Linked DNA regions of Homo sapiens: all the other regions are linked to region 4. The links are contacts of gene promoters, found by promoter capture Hi-C in blood cells and fetal thymus (Javierre and others, 2016). All regions are on one chromosome and are shown on one strand. Each heading gives the region's core, a stretch centred on a gene start or on the middle of the fragment in contact. The rest is flanking DNA. Distances are from core to core; before and after follow the strand shown.

The links. The method cuts DNA at HindIII sites, captures the fragments that hold promoters and counts their contacts. A CHiCAGO score of 5 or more calls a contact.
Region 1: a fragment that was not itself captured here is called in contact with the fragment with the promoter of CSMD3 in region 4 in 3 of 17 cell types (monocytes, M2 macrophages and megakaryocytes); the score reaches 6.1 in monocytes.
Region 2: a fragment that was not itself captured here is called in contact with the fragment with the promoter of CSMD3 in region 4 in 3 of 17 cell types (monocytes, M0 macrophages and M2 macrophages); the score reaches 9.8 in monocytes.
Region 3: a fragment that was not itself captured here is called in contact with the fragment with the promoter of CSMD3 in region 4 in 1 of 17 cell types (endothelial precursors); the score reaches 7.2 in endothelial precursors.

What each region holds. Positions count from the first base shown.
Region 1 is chr8:111,931,786-111,935,661 of GRCh38, forward strand. No RefSeq gene overlaps it. Among named protein-coding and RNA genes, the nearest start is that of LINC02237, 560 kb to the left of the region's middle. The HindIII fragment of the contact is 818 bases long and covers 1,249-2,066 here.
Region 2 is chr8:111,961,023-111,965,068 of GRCh38, forward strand. No RefSeq gene overlaps it. Among named protein-coding and RNA genes, the nearest start is that of LINC02237, 590 kb to the left of the region's middle. The HindIII fragment of the contact is 1,268 bases long and covers 1,079-2,346 here.
Region 3 is chr8:111,437,791-111,441,929 of GRCh38, forward strand. All of the region lies in intron 2 of LINC02237 (long intergenic non-protein coding RNA 2237), which reads left to right. Among named protein-coding and RNA genes, the nearest start is that of LINC02237, 63 kb to the left of the region's middle. The HindIII fragment of the contact is 405 bases long and covers 1,093-1,497 here.
Region 4 is chr8:113,434,902-113,438,801 of GRCh38, forward strand. CSMD3 (CUB and Sushi multiple domains 3) reads right to left here and starts at 2,038. Exons shown (of 71, transcript NM_198123.2): 1 at 1,776-2,038. The coding sequence starts at 1,953. RefSeq lists enhancers at 622-1,132, 2,910-2,959, 2,972-3,472. The HindIII fragment of the contact is 6,354 bases long and covers 348-3,900 here.

The DNA of each region.
Region 1 (3,876 bases), core at 408-2,907, 1.5 Mb before region 4:
AGGATAAAAATTGGCCTATACCGCCTCCTCTGCTTCGGTAGCAGAAATAGAAACCCAAATACAAAGGATTTTATGCTCTGCTGCCATAGCTGGAGACCCCTTAGGACCTTCTGCTTTTCCTATTTCTGTAAGGCCTGATCCAAATAATCCACAGCAGGTTATTCATGAACACACTCCACTAGAGTTTAAGTTGTTAAAGGCGTACAGAGCTCATTCACCTTAGGATTGCTAGACTCTGTGTTTGGTGCTATGCGTCTTTTACCCTTTGATGTGAAACACTTGGTGCGAACTTGCTTGTCTGCGAGTGAATATCTGACACAAAACAACATATATTTCTGACCCAATAATTCCTCCTCTGGTAGCCATTCTAGATAAATCAAATGCATAGATGATAAAGGTAGCTGGAGAGATAGATAGATGCTCATTGTAGCATTTTTGTTATTGTGAATAATTGAAAACACAATATACTAGTATATCTTTTACAAAGCCATTTCAATTGATATAGGGAATAATGGGGCGTTTGGGGGTTTTGCTTGTTTGTTTTTAGAGAATGTTGACTTGAAAATACATGTTAAAAGAATATGAATCAGGGTTATAATTGTTACAAAGGTATTTTTAAAATAATTACTTTGTCTTTGACTGATACATCCTAGTCTAGGCAATATTTAGATGTTTTTAATTGAATGGAAATTAATTACTAGTTAGAATATTCTTGATTGCATTTAGCAGAGTAAATAGTGTGTGTGTTTGTGTTTGTGCGTGTGTATGTGTTTGTCACAGAGAATACTAGAAGAAACACTAAAAAAAAAAGTTGGAAGATTTAGAAGAAATCTTGGAGTATACCCAACTCCATTATTTCATTGTACAAATGGGTTAGCAAGGAACTAGTGAGGGGAAATGATTTTCCTGAAACAATGCTACTGATAAATGTATCAATAGGACTCAGGGATTCTTAGCCCAAACCTTTTTTTTTTTTCCTTTCAACTTTTATTTTAAGTTCAGGGGTATATGATGTGCAGGATGTGCAGGTTTCTTACATAGGTTAATATGTGCTATGGTGGTTTGCTGTGCAGACCATCTCATCACCTAAGTATTTAATCCAGCATCCCTTAGCTATTTTTCCTGATGCTCCCCCTCCCCCTAACCCCTCAGCTCTGACGGGGCCCAGTGTGTGTTATTCCCCACCATGTGTCCATGTATTCTCATCATTCAGCTCCCACTTATAAGTGAGAACATGTGTTAGCCCAAAGCTTTTATTTTCACTGAGGAGTATTCTTTTTGGGCATACAGCTAAAATAAATTAAGTTGCAATTAATCTTATTTTATTTATAAACAAAGCTATTTATTGACCTGTCCCTACCAAAGAGAGATATTTATGACTCTTAAAATTTAGCAAGAAAGATATAAAATTTTGTTCATGAACTTAAAAAAGGCATCACGTTAAGTTATACAAATATCTGTGAAACTCTTACTCTAAATAAAAAAAAGTTATATTTTAATAATTCCTTAAAACTCATAGTAGATTGGAAATATGACCATAATTCACTTCTACATCCATACCCTTTGCAGTGTGACTTTGCAGCTGCTCACATCAAGAGAGGAGTCTCTTTTCTTTCCCTTTACCTGTCTTGTGACTTCTTTTGGTCACAAAACGCAGCACAAGTAATGTGGTGCCAATTCCAACTCTAGGCCTCAAAGGGGCTTTGTAAATTTCTGTCCTTTCTCTTGAAACCCTACCCAGACATTGTGTGAAGAATCCTAGCTGGCCTAAAGGAAGGTGAGAGATGAATCATACCACCTGAGACTTTACTGGACCATCCAGTCCCCAGCTGACCTGGCAGGTGATCTGGCAACTGACCATAGATGCATGAATGGGCTCAGCTGAGGATGACATCTGGCCCAGATTAGCAGAACCATCTTGATGACACACAGACTCATGAAATCAATAAAATATTGTTATTTGAAGTCATTAGGATTTGATTAATTTTTTATGACAATAGCTAAAAAGCCATTGTTTACATGAAGGCATTAAAATTAGATTATGTGTTACTTATATAATATATCAAAGCTTTTGGATAATAAGTAAAATTTTATCCCACAGCAAAATATCATTTTATCAGAAGGCATAATTTTGGCCTGGTAAAAATATTTTTCAACAATTTTTCATAAGTGATAGACCCCGCTATGGTTATATATCATCAAAGTTTTAAGATCACATTTTATATTCTCCTCTAACTTGTAAGTTCAAAATATAGCTTCTTAAATTTGTTAAAATTTTTCATTATTTAAATTATGTTTTGCATCAAAATCAATGGCAGGAAAATACAAACCCAAATCCTCAATTTTAATGAATAAGCCTGGCTTAAAAATGACTCTGTCATACTCTAACACATAAAAGCAGAGAGTACAATGGTTTTTATCAGGGGCAGAGGGAATGGGAAAATGGAGAGTTGCCATTCAAGGGAGGCAAAGTTTCAGTTATAAAAGATGAGTAAGTTCTAGAGATCTGCTGTGTAACATTGTGACTACAGGTAAGCATTCTGTATTGTATACTTTAACATTTGTTAGGAAGGTAGGTCTCATGCTAAGTGTTTCTACCACAATTTAAGTTAAAAAAAAGAATTTTAAAATAAGGTAATACCAATGAATAAGATGAGGTGAAATGTATGTATCTTTAAATCATTTGGCATTCAGTTTGCAAAAAGTGAATTGACAGTAATAGCACATTAGAGCATGTTTCTTAATTTCTATTTATTAGCTAAGTGTAATATTTGTATGTGACCACTAGATAGAGCTACTATAATATCCTGAGAGAAAAAAAAATATAGGAAACTATCTCACGTTTAGCATGTATATAGATTGCTTTTCTTTATATTGCATTCTATATGATCTCAGGTAGCTCTGGATTTGCTAACTTTAGTTTGATGTAACTCAGCTTTACTTTCACTATAATACATGCAAACACCAATTTTATTAGTTTACCAACCATGATCTGCATATAATGCATTATGAAGTTTAATCATAGTAATAGTTCTAAAACCATAATACAATATTTTAGGATGTTTCAGTATGATATTTGTCCTAAAGCCACCAAAAATAATTTTGTGCTGAACTCTTAATATATTTTATGATTTTTGATATCTGTATACATTAGAGTGTTTATTACACATGTGGCAAATAAGGCTTCCCACTTTCAGATAAAGATTATATGTAAAATAAAGAATATACAAAATAAATAAAGGTTCAGTCTAATGCTGAGGTTCTTAAAGCAGAAAAATTAGGCTAACTAAATGAAACATAAGTCTCCTCCGTTTTTGTCAACAGGCAGAAGACCTCCATTATAAAACCAACAAAGAGAAATTCAATTCGTAAAAAACTCAAAGGCAGAGATTATGTCCTAAACTTTTTTTCTAGTTCCTATAAACAACGATCACTGTCCTCATCATAGAATAGGAAAATAAATCCACAGAGATTCATTCTTAAAGATCAGCTGATTATTTGCTAGCTACAGTAGTACATTATTTATAAATATCTAGAAATTAATTTGACCATTATTTAATGCAGTGTATGTAGTTTATTATAATTTTGAATTAATGACCCCTCCAAAACCTAATTTATTAATCTGTAACATTTTCTTAATGATATGTGATTTAGGAATTGAGTCAGGATCAACTGGCTTTGCTAGTCAATAAAGCAACATTTCCCAGATTTTATTGAATATCTGAATCACCTAGGAGCACGTTGAAAAGACAGTTCCAGGCCCTACCTCCTGATTTTACAGGTGATGAAACTGACTTTGAAATTCTGCATTGAGTCCTAACTATCTGTATTTTATGAAGCACCTCTCATATTTCCAATGCAAAAAACCATATTCTG
Region 2 (4,046 bases), core at 463-2,962, 1.5 Mb before region 4:
TATAGGTTGCCTTTTCACTTTATGGATTGTTCCCTTCTCTGTGCAGCTTTTAGTATATACATACAATGGAATATTATTTAGCCTTATAAAAGAAGGACACCCTGCTATATGTGGCAACATGGATTAACCTGGAGAAAATTATGCTCAGTGAAATAAGCCAGTCACAGAAGAACAAATACAGCATGGTTCTACTTGTAGAAGATATTTAGGATAGCCAAACTCACAGAAGCAGAGATGGGAATGTTGTCTGTCAGGAGTTGGTGGGAGGGGAAAATGGGGAGTTGTTTAATTAGTATAAAATTTCAGTTATGTAAGATGTTTACATTCTAGTAATTTGCTGTACAACATAGTGCTATTAGTTAATGATACTGTAATGTACACACTTAGGAATCTGATGAGAGGGAAAAAGAAAAGAAATTTGATAAGAGGGTAAATCTTGTGTTATGTTTCTTACCACAATAAAAGTTTTATTGTTATACCTATCAAATAATATTATAATAACAGGAAACCTACCCCTTTTATCTGAATGGTAGTCAAACTCAAAAAAATGGATATGTTAGTATGAATCCAAAAAATCTACTTTTCAAAAAAATTCGGTCACACTTCTCAAATTTCTTTAAAATCATGGTAAATAACCTCTAGCAGAAACTATGATTTTTCTTTCTTACATGTCATTTTATATAATATTAAAGACAAATATGCTACATGACTAAGTCAAATAATAAAATATTAATATAAATAGAAATAGTTCAGTATGATTTTTAGGATGTTAGGATTATTATTTGTTTATTGAAATGTTTTATGCTCTCATGCCAAGAATTTCAGAATTTCCTTCAAAAATATGCAATTAGCTAAGAATGTCTCAAAAGAGATTTTTAAAACTTCACTATTATGAGCTGGTGTGGTGGCTCACTCCTATAATTCCAGAACTTTGGAAGGCCAATGCAAGAGGATTGTTTGAGCCCAGGAGTTCGAGACCAATCTGGGTAACATAGTGAGACCCTGTCTCTTCAAAAAGTTTAAAAATTTGCCAGATGGCATGGCTGTAGTCACAGCTACTCAGAAGGCTGAGGTGGGAAGCTTGATTGCTTGAGCCTGGGAGGTCAAGGCTGCAGTGAGCTGTGATTGTGCCACTGTATTCTAGCCTGGGTGATAGGGTAAGACTGTCTCAAAAAAAAAATAATTAAAAATAAAAATAAAATTAATTACAAAACTTTCCTCTTATCATTGCTTTAGCTGCATCCCGGAGATTTTGGTATGTTGTTTCCATTTTTCTTAATTTCATTTTTTTTATATTTGCATGAATTTTGATGTTCATCCAGAAGTTATTCAGGAGAAGGTGTTCAATTTTTATGTTTTTATGTGTTTTTGAGAGACCTTCTCAATACTGATTTCTATTTTTATTGTACTGTGGTAAAAGAGTGTGCTTGGTATGATTTCAATTTCTTGAATGTATTGAGCTTGCTTTATAATGGGTCATGTGGTCAATCTTAGAATATGTTTTGTGTGTAGATGAGAAGAATGTATATTCTATGGTTGTTGGGTGGACTGTTCTATAGATACCTATTAATTTCAATTGGTCAAGTGTCAAGTTAAAGTCTAGCGATTCTTTGTAAGTTTTCTGCTTTGGCAATCTATCTTGCACTGTCACGTCACTGGGGTGTTGAAGATTTCTGTTATTATTGTGGGATTGTCTATGTCTTTTTATAAGCCAAGAAGAGCTTATTTTATGAACCTGGGTGCTCCAATGTTGGATATATATATATATATATATATGATAGTTAAGTCTTCTTGTTGGATTGTACTCTTTATCATTATATAATGCCCTTTATTATCTTTCTTAATATTTGTTGGTTTAAAGTATGTTTTTCCTGACATGCGATTAGCAACTCCTGCTCTTTTACTTTTCTGTTTGCATGGTATAATTTTCTCTGTCTCTTTAATCTGAGCATGTGGATGCTGTTACATGTGAGATGGATCTCTTGAAGGGAAAAGATGTTGGATCTTGTCTTTTTATCTAGCTGGCCACTCTGTGTCTTTTAAGTGATGTTAATTGGGTTAAGTGATGCTTAACCCAATTACATTCAAGATAGTATTAACGTGTGTGATTTTCATTCTTGTCATTGTGTTGTTAGCTGGTTGTTATGTAGAATTGATTGTGTACTTACATTATAGTGCCTGTGGATTATGTGTTTATTTAAGTGTGTTTTTGTGGTAGCAGGTGTCATTCTTTTGGTTTTATGTTTAGCACTCCCTTAAGGACCTCTTGTAATGCTGGTCTAGTTGAAACAAATTCCCTCAGCATTTGCTTGTTTGAGAAGGATATTTTCTCTCCTTCACTTATGAAGCTTAGTTTGGTGCAATATGAAACTCTTCGTTGATTTTTTTTTCTTGAAGAATGCTGAAAATAGGCCTCCAATCTCTTCTGGCTTGTAAGGTTTCTGCTGACAGATCTGCTGCTGGCCTGATGGGATTCCCTCTGTATGTGATTTGACCCTTCTCTTTAGCTGCCTCTAAGATTTTTTTTCTTTTGCATTAACTTTGGAAATCTGATGATTATGTGCCTGAAGGATGGTCATCTTGTATAGTACTAGCTAGGGCTATTTGTATTTATTGCATTTGAATGTCAACCTCTGTAGTAAGTTAAGAAAATTTTCATAAACTATATTCTTATATATTTTCCAAGTTGCTTACTCTCGCTCCTCTCTCAGGAATGCCAATGAGGTGTAGATTTGATCTCTTTGCATAATTTTATAGTTTTCAAAGTTTTCATTAATTTTTTAAAATGATTTTTCTTTATTTTTGTCTGAGTTGTTCTGAAGAACTGGTCTTTGAGATCTGAGATCCTTTTATTAGCTTGGCCTATTTTGTAGTTAATACTGCTTTTGTATTATTAAATTCTTGCATTAAATTTTTCAGCTCTAGAAGTTCAGTTTGGTTCTTTCTTAAAATGGCTGTTTCATCTTTCACCTCTGGGATCATTTTACTGGATTCCTTGGATCGGGTTTCAACTTTCTCCTGAATCTCAGTGTGCTTTCTTGCCATCCAGATTCTGAATTTTGTGTCTGTCATTTCAGTGATTTCAGACTGGTTAAGAGCTATTGCCAGTGAACCCATTTGGAGGTAAGAGGACACTAGCTTTTCCAGTTGCCAGAGTTCTTGTGCTGATTCTTGCTCATCTGGGAGAATTGGTGTTTCTTTACTGAGGTATCAGTTGAGTACCATCAGTTGGCTTCAATTTTAGATGCTTTCAGAGTGTCAGGGCTCTGTATGGTATCTTTATGTGTAGGTAAATTCTTGCACTTGTTTTCATATGAGCATATAATTAGCAAGATAATTTTTGATGTTGTAGTTTGGGCTGCAATCCAGTAGATGGCACTTAAGAGTAATGTCCAGTAGCTAGACTAATACCCAGTAGTGCAGCTCTTTTGTACTTCCTGGCATTCACATGTGAGGTCTGCAGTGGAGGTGGAAAAAGATGGTCCCCTCAGGTCCACTCCTGGGCCTTGGTGGAGCCTCCTCTGATCTCTGATGCTGCAAGTTCATTTTTTTTTTTAGGTGTTACGGGTAATGGGACCCACTCAGGCAGCAGCTATGGCAGGTAGGTATGCCACACCTTTCTGGACTAGCCCTGTGGAGGGAGACATGCCCTGCTCTAGATCTGGCCTAAGAATCCATGCATCTTGTCCCCTCTCAGTTCTATGAGGGTGAAGGCTCCTCCCTGTTGCTCAAATGCCTGCCACAAATTTCATATTCCTGAGCTATGAACTGCAGCCTAGAGGCACTGTGGCATCTTACAGCTTGGGGTCAGGTTTTGGCTGCACTGGGGGATCCAATTTGCTCTTGGGTTACCAGGAAAGTACTCAGGTGAAACAATGCACTTATGTTGAGTTTCAGAAGCTGTGCTATGTACACATTCACCCAAGGTGGCTAGGCATGGTCCCTTTTAGAACAGACATACCCCAGTCCCACAGGGAAGCTAGCCCCACTCTCTACTGGCTTGGAGGTCAGCTGGGAAAAGCCCCTCACAGAGGGGGATAGAGAGC
Region 3 (4,139 bases), core at 45-2,544, 2.0 Mb before region 4:
AAAGACACATATTTATCACCATACACTTTTAAAGACCAAAAGGCCAAAAGTTGGTAGGGATGCGTCCTTTTCTGTAGTCTCTAAAGAATTTTTGTTTTTCTTGCCAATTTTGGCTTCTATAGATTGCTCACATTCTTTGGATCATATCCGTCTTCCATCTTTAAAGCAAAGAATGGGGCCGAGCGCGGTGGCTCATACCTGTAATCCCAATACTTTGGGAGGCCTAGGCAGGTAGATCACCTGAGGTCAGGAGTTTGAGACCAGCCTGGCCAACATGTTGAAACCCTCTGTGTATTAAAAATACAAAAAAATTAGCCGGGCGTGGTGGTAGGCACCTGTAATCCCAGCAAACTCAGGAGGCTGAGGCAGTAAATCGCTTGAACCCGGGAGGCAGAGGTTGCAGTGAGCCGTGATCACCTCATTGCACTCCAGCCTGGGCAACAAGAGCAAAATTCCGTCTTAAGAAGAAGAAAAAAAAAAAAGCAAAGAATAGTTATTTCTCAATTTACATACTGTAACTGACTCTCCTGCGACCTTCTCCCATTTATTATTACTCCAGTGATTACATTAAATCCCAGATAACTCAGAATACTCTTCTGATCTCAAGGTCAGCTGATTACTAACTTTAATTATATTTGCAACCTTAATTCCCTCCTACAGCATAACATAACATATTCACAGTTTCCAGGAATTAGACCATGGGCATCTCTTGTGGGCTATTTTTCTTCCTACCACAGTATCTGTAAATGTCAACAAAACTGTTGAGCAGAATTCAGTTATTTCAACTAATCTCTTGGCATTTTGTAGGAATAGACACAACAAAGAAAGATCATAATATTTTAATTTTGAAAACTTCATATGACTTTCCTTCCCACTTGAAATAAGCTTCGTCACTTGATAGCCTTAGTTTTGGTTGCTACAGAAAGATGCACTCAGAAATTTGCTAGTGTTACTCGCTTCAGCTGGGATTAATAAATAGAAAGCCTCAGCTATTATTTGTTTTTCTTCCTTTTCCTGTCCCATAATACACAGCAATTTCTAAGCAAGCAGTGGCAGAGCAACCTAGGGGAAAATGTACCTTTCTAGTGTTAAAGCTTTTCTCCCGGGAGGTTTTAACCAGAGATATGAAAACCGTACTGAGAAAGAAACACAAGGTGATAACAAAACAAGAAAAGGGCATGTTAACACTACTCCGTAAAAACAATCCTATTAACCTGAGGTGAAAATAAACCTTGGACCATGTTGCTGAATATCCAAACTCTTCTGCTTAAATGGAGTTGTCAACTATAAAACAACCTTCTAGTAATGTTAGCTACATCAAATACTACCTACTAAGATAATACATTTTAAAGAAATTCTTTTAGCATGTTGGACTGGGTTTGTCTCATTACATGCCAAGTATAATATCTACTTTATTTTACATATATTTTGAGTGTAGGAAAATGGAAAATAAAAATGATTGTCCATATATTTTTCAAAACATTTAAGGAGAAAATAAGCTTGGCCTCCATTGGTATTTAAATTTGACATCAATATTGTAATCTTAAAATTGAATTTTTTCTCGTTTTATACAAGAAACTAGGTAATTTTACTTAATAAATACCGCTATCTAATTGAACTTAGTCTATCTAATTGAACTTAGTCTATCTAATTGAACTTAGTCTACAAAAGTAGACATTTTGTAGAATCTTATCATATTGATTTCTTACATATCACCAAAAAACTGCAATACAATTAAGTTAGTTTTAAATTAAAACTGTATTTTGCAGATTTAAGTACATATTTATTAAATAAATATTTATGGAGCATTTATTATATTTCCCATTGTGGATACAGCAGAGAAAATAGCCTCTTTCTTAAAACTTATATTCTAATGAGGGAAAAACACAAATAAACCCATAATACTATACAATATTATGTGAGATTATAAAATGAAGAAATTTAAAGCATAGTAAAAAAATAGACAAGGAAGGGACATCTGTTTTCATAGTCAGCAAAGTTATCTCAGTTATAACCTTTTTATTACCTTGTTGGCATACAGCAGTCACAGACAATATGCAATTAAAATTTTTTATAAATAAGTAATATTCATTTACAAGACTCAGGCAACAGAGACACAGATAATGAACCAAAGCCTATTTTTATTCTAAAATAGTTTGTTTTATATATTAGTAAGAAGATGTTATAAAATTATACTGTAACTAGTGCACTTCAAAATATATTCTACTAAATACACAATAAAACTTCAAAATTGAAGTAATCTTAACTAGTCACAAAATTAAAACTGTCACCTATCACATTTAATTTTTGTTTTTATCTTAAAGCAGTTTTAAATATGAAAAATATTAATTTCTATGTATAATGAATCCACGACTGAGGTGTTCAGCTATTTTATTATTTTGAAAAAAAAACACAAATGCCTCAAGCTAGAATAAAAATTCAGATAGCCACCATTATTTCAAATCAACTGTGTTTTTACCCAAAGATCTAGCACTTTTAAATGGGAAAGTGAAGGATATAAATGAAAAGGAACAGTTGCAGAAGTTCAATGAAAATTGGGCAAAAGTTATGTGTTAAATCTGTATTTGAAGCTGTTGTGTTCATGCAAAGGTTTTATCCTTTCCGTGATTATCAGTTCTGTTATGAGTACACAGAAGACATATGATACAGAAATGGGTCCCCAGCTCTCATCATATCTTCCTGGAAAATTAATATAGGGTCCAATGTACTGGGCATTGAGAATACAAAAATTAATGGAAAATTCTTTTATATCAATAGCTAATAAGCTACTGATGAATTGGCAGATAGTTTTCATCTTATTTGCTTAGTTCAATCTATTTTCAATAAACACTTGGAGCTCATCATGAAAAAATTATTTCAATTCCACCCATAGTGGGGTTTCCTTTTTAAAATTATAATATCAATTATGGGTAAGGTGTTTTATATCTGTTGTATATTTGGTGAATATATATATATTTGTCTTGTGTCATCTTTACCCAACCTAGTCTATGTAGTATATGCAGTTATTTTTTTAATGTCTATATGAACTAAAATTTAAAAACTTTTTAGAAACTCACTATAGAATGATAGTGAAAGAATTTCATTTTACTGAATCAGACAACTATATTTATGAAGATTTAGGAAACAGAGAGGAGCGTGTGAAATGAGAAGAGAGACACAGATATTATTCATTGTAATTAATAACTGCCTGCAGTCTAACATGTATCCTATAAGGTGAAAATAATTTTATTGTTGTTCTTAATAAAAATGTCCAACAAATCCCTTCAGAGGTTTTATTCATACCTGAGTAAATTCTTCATAATGATTCAGTTTCATCATGTAATTAGAATGGGATTTACCATTAACATCCCAAAATTATATAATTAATTACACTCAGCTTCAATTACAATTACTAATTGATACAAGGCCTCTAGCTTAACTCCTAGAGGTAATCAATTTTACAATAGGCATTTTGAACAAGTGGTTAGATCACATTGGCCTACTAGTTCATATGAACTGGCTAATTGACAAAATTTTGTTTTGCTAAAAATCTCAAGAAAACAATACCAGGAAATTCTGCAGGCAAAATTTCTCCCAAAGTTATTTATTCATGTGATTTTCACCTGGATAAAAAAGGTTCTTTCTTTGGTTGTCAGCACTTCCAATAGTCTTAACTATGTTCTATCCTTTAAGTCCTTCTCTAGTTTTTCTCCTATTCATTTTCCTGTAAATGTAAGGTAGAATATTCTACCCAAGTTGATCTATTTATTTTTCGGGTTCTTTCATGTCATCAGTGCCAGCTGTAGTTTGCTGGAATTTCACTTATGGTATAAATAAATAATAAGAGGCGCAGAAATAAAATTTATTTTTCAGCATCCCCAAATTTCAAGGAATAATATGGTTAACCTTAATTATGGTAAAAAGGTAGATCTTTTTTTTTTCTTTTGCAGTTTTTAAGTTCCTGGGTTGAAGCATTCGATTTTGAATTTGGGGGCACTTATGTATCACTGGATATGTTTCTTACAATACAGATACCTGAACACACAGAGAATCTGATTCAGAGACCCATAGCCTGTGGAGCACAATTTTAGAAATCCTGACCTAAGATAGAAAGATATTGTTACAGGTACCAGGAATTT
Region 4 (3,900 bases), core at 788-3,287:
TTTTGGCTCAACAGGTATCACATGAAAACTCGCACTTAAACCCTGGTCATCTTCTCACAGGAGCCACCCTTACATTTTTCTGCCAGGGCTGCTGCTGGCTATTCGCGCCTCCCCCACGCGAAGCGCGCGTCTAGCAGGCAGCCCCAGGGCCATCCATTAACCACCAACTCCCAGTGGCAGGCGAACTAAGCATAAATGTGTGGCTCCTCACCCGTCGAGCCAGCGACAAAGAAACCTTGTAAGCAACCTGAGCCGTGCTTTGTACATTTGGCAGTGTAGTTGTGCCACTTAGGACAAGCTTTTCGGCTCAGAGCTGCTCTGAGGCCCCAGAGAGAAAAGAAAAATCAAGCTTCAAGGAGCAGGTTGGGATTACAAGGCAGTTGCTGCCACAGAGACCGGGGCGACTGACTTCCTGGCATTTTGGGATGTAAATTAAAATTCTAGACATGCCACCCATCATTGGTTATAGTAGAGGGAAAGGTAACCTCTCCAGCTCCCTCCTCCCAAAACATGAATTATCATTTCCACTGAATGCAAATGAGCTGCCTTCCGTGGGGGGACAGCCAGCTGCAAGCTGGACAATAAACTGTTTCATAGAGACGCGGCCCGATTGCAGTTCAGAGAGGCACTCCTTTACAAAGGAAGAAGCGTCCAGTTTGTGTTGACAGCCCTGGCGCGCCTGGGCCAAAACAGCACCCCCTTTCCCGCGATCCCCCGCCCCCCCGCGACACACAGACACCCGGGATTTGAAACTAGCTTCACTGAAAGCGGCATCCATAGCGTCTATTCGAGCTGCCATGAGTATGGAGAGGTGATTGTTCAAAAAATGATGGCATGAGTCATAAACACCTCCTGAGTATTCTTTGCAGCAATTAATGGGCAGCAGGGTGCCGGAGAAGTTGTGGAAGAGAGCTATGGATCTATTTTCTCCCTAAGGACAGCTCTTTTTCCCATGATCCTGACTGTCCCTTGCCTTCCTGCTTGGGAATACATTTTTACATCCCACCTACCCCCTCCCCTATCTGTGCATGTGACACTCACTCTACCTGTCTGAACGCTGAGACTTGCTGGGGATTTTCTTTTGGTCGTCAGCTAATGACTTTCCTCCTACCTCATTCATCCCTTAAGGTGGTTCTTTACACTTCATGGCATTTCAGACCCTTCGAAAGCCTCATTTTTTGCCAAACCTCTACCACAGGTCCTAGGGAAGCTCCCCTACATTTAACATTGCATAGAAGCCCAATTTACATACATATGCATGCAGACATTCATGTTGATGTGGCAGTGCTTGGAAGATCCCTGTGCCCTAATGCATTTAAAATCAACACATTCCTAGCACGTCGATAACTTTCTTCCCTGAAAGGGTTAAAAAGCATTTAGACCAGCGTCTTTAATATATATATTCCACCCAAAGCCTCAAGCCCTAGTGATCTGACAAGAAATCAAGGTAATCCTCACCACTAAGAAAAGTCTTGCAGAGGAATTCTGCCTGGATATCCACTAGTTAGAGGCTATACTAACCAACTCACGTATTCGTTTGAGCATACTGCAAGAATATTTATTGAGCACAAGCTCAATCACCGCATTGAACGCCAAATCTGGCAAGCAAAATGCATTTCCTATCTGAGGGGGGGAGAACGAGCTGTGAATCAACTCCTTTAGTATTATCAGATTATTTTATCGGTGCAAATTGCAAAGTAAGCTGCCAGCCTCTCTCCATCTACAAGTCAGCCCACCTCCATCCAAAGCGGAGGGGACCCCCAAAGCAGACCTACCTTTCACACAAGACACCGTCAATAAAAAGACGAGGTTCCAAAACGTAAATCCACTTTTAATCCCCATTTTCTTCATCAGGATGAAGTCTAGGCGGCCACATTTAGCGCATCTTCGCTTGCCAGGCTCCCAGGGTTTGGATTCCTTTGCTCGGCTTTCCCCTTTGCGGATCCCTTTCATATTATTCGCGAGCTCCTAATTCCTGCTCCTCAGCCCGGCGCAGTGGAGTTGTTGCTGTTGTTGGTGCGCGGTCACAGCTCGGAGTGAATGGTGTTTCTGGGATACCACAGCAACCTTGACGAGGACTCAACCATCTCTCCAACGGGGGCACAAAGTCTCCGCTACTCTGGATTCTGTCTTTTCTTGTGCGTTTTTTCCCCTCCACCAAAATCTACCCCAATTCTGGCTCGTTATAGCAACCACCAGAAACCACTAGTGAGCCTCTTAAAGCCCACCTCTGCTCTCTGATAAACTCCACACAATATTTGAAATTAAGGGGCTTGCTTTTTTTCCCCGAATAGATCAATTCTGCCTGTAAAAGCAGCCCAAGAAATAATGTTAGTGAGCTCTCCGTTGCAGGCTGCGAATACAGAAGCATGTCAAAGGAATATTTTAATCGGAGGATCTGTGTTGCTTTTGGGGAAACCGTGACGATAATGAATCGGGCTCCATCGATGCCCACGTCGTTATAATGGGACATGTGTTACTACTGTAGTTGCAGTATATTTCAGGCAGGCTTCTCCCATTTATTATCCTGTGATTTAATTGAAAAAGGAAATCACAGAGAATTTTCTCAATAAATTCTGCCTTCACACGGAAAAGAATGTATTTGAACACATGTATTTACATACTCAAATAACTACGTGTAAACCCTTCACCGGGTTTTTATGATTCGGGAAACGGATTTCATCCGTGGCCTGGGCGGGGGTGGGGTGGGGAGGGAAGTCAATGTCGTTTCCTCAAATAGTTCTCCCTTTCATCCTCCCAACCCCCTTTTCAGTTTGTGTGTGCCGCAGTTAAACTACTTTATCTGTGGTAGTTATCTAGAACAAACCCATTTGTCTTAATTCTGAATCGGTACCAAATATGTAAATAGGAGGTTTCTTTCAAAACGAAAAATGTATGTATCTATACATCTGGATCTGCTTCCCCCATGCACCACGCAAGGGTTAAGATTGCACAAGGGAAGAGTTCTTGCGCCATCTACTGGCCGTCTCCGAGCCGCCCGTTCTTCCTTCGCATGTATAAGGGACCCTGTTTTTGCCATCCCTTGGTGTCAGGGGAGCTGTGTCCCCGGGACCAGTATGTCGTGCTCCTTGATTTTTTTCGACCACGGTCCTGGCCCAAATCTTTCAATGAACAAGTTCCTTAGATTAGGCAACTGATTGGTGATCTGACCTTTTCGGGAATCTGGTCCCCTCTCAGCAGTGGGGAGTGCCACAGCGCTAGTTCTGAAACAGGATATTGCTGTTGCGTGTGGCTCCATTTAACTGCCTCAGGCTATCATGGGCGTGAGCGTCTATCAACAAGGCTTAGTCTAGAGGACTGCCCAACTTGAGTTTGCAGCTCCCTGCACTGTGCACAAATAATGGGTTTGGTCCCGTGCACCACAGCATTACCCTGGCCAGCTTTGTCCCTTGGCTCGCGTTGGAGCTGCCCGCTCAGCAGAGGAAGGCGTTAGAATCTGGAAGGAGTTCCGCTCTGGGAAGTGGGCACACTGCGAGTGTCCATAGGTTTGAGTGGCGAGTGAGTTCAATCTGCAGGCGTAGGAAGGCTTCTGATCTCTCGGGGTACGTGGCATTGTGTGTGGGCCTGTGATTCTCCCAGTTCGTGTGTGTGTGTGTGTGTGTGTGTGTGTGTCTGCGCGCGCGAGAGCATAAACGCGCTGTAGTGAGAGGTAAGTGTGCGTGTTTATGAAAGATACAAAGAGTGATTTGCCATGCGTAGGTGTTTTCCCAAGTGTATTTTTGCAGTACATATGCGTGTGCACGCCTGTGTGTGTTTGTGTGTTAGAGAGGGATTTCTGTCCTGGGTAGGGAGCTGTAGCAAAAGGTAAAAGCTGTAGACGCCCAGCTGACCTCATTAAATTCAGAGAGATACTTTAAGAGCCCTCAGGCAGAACATTGT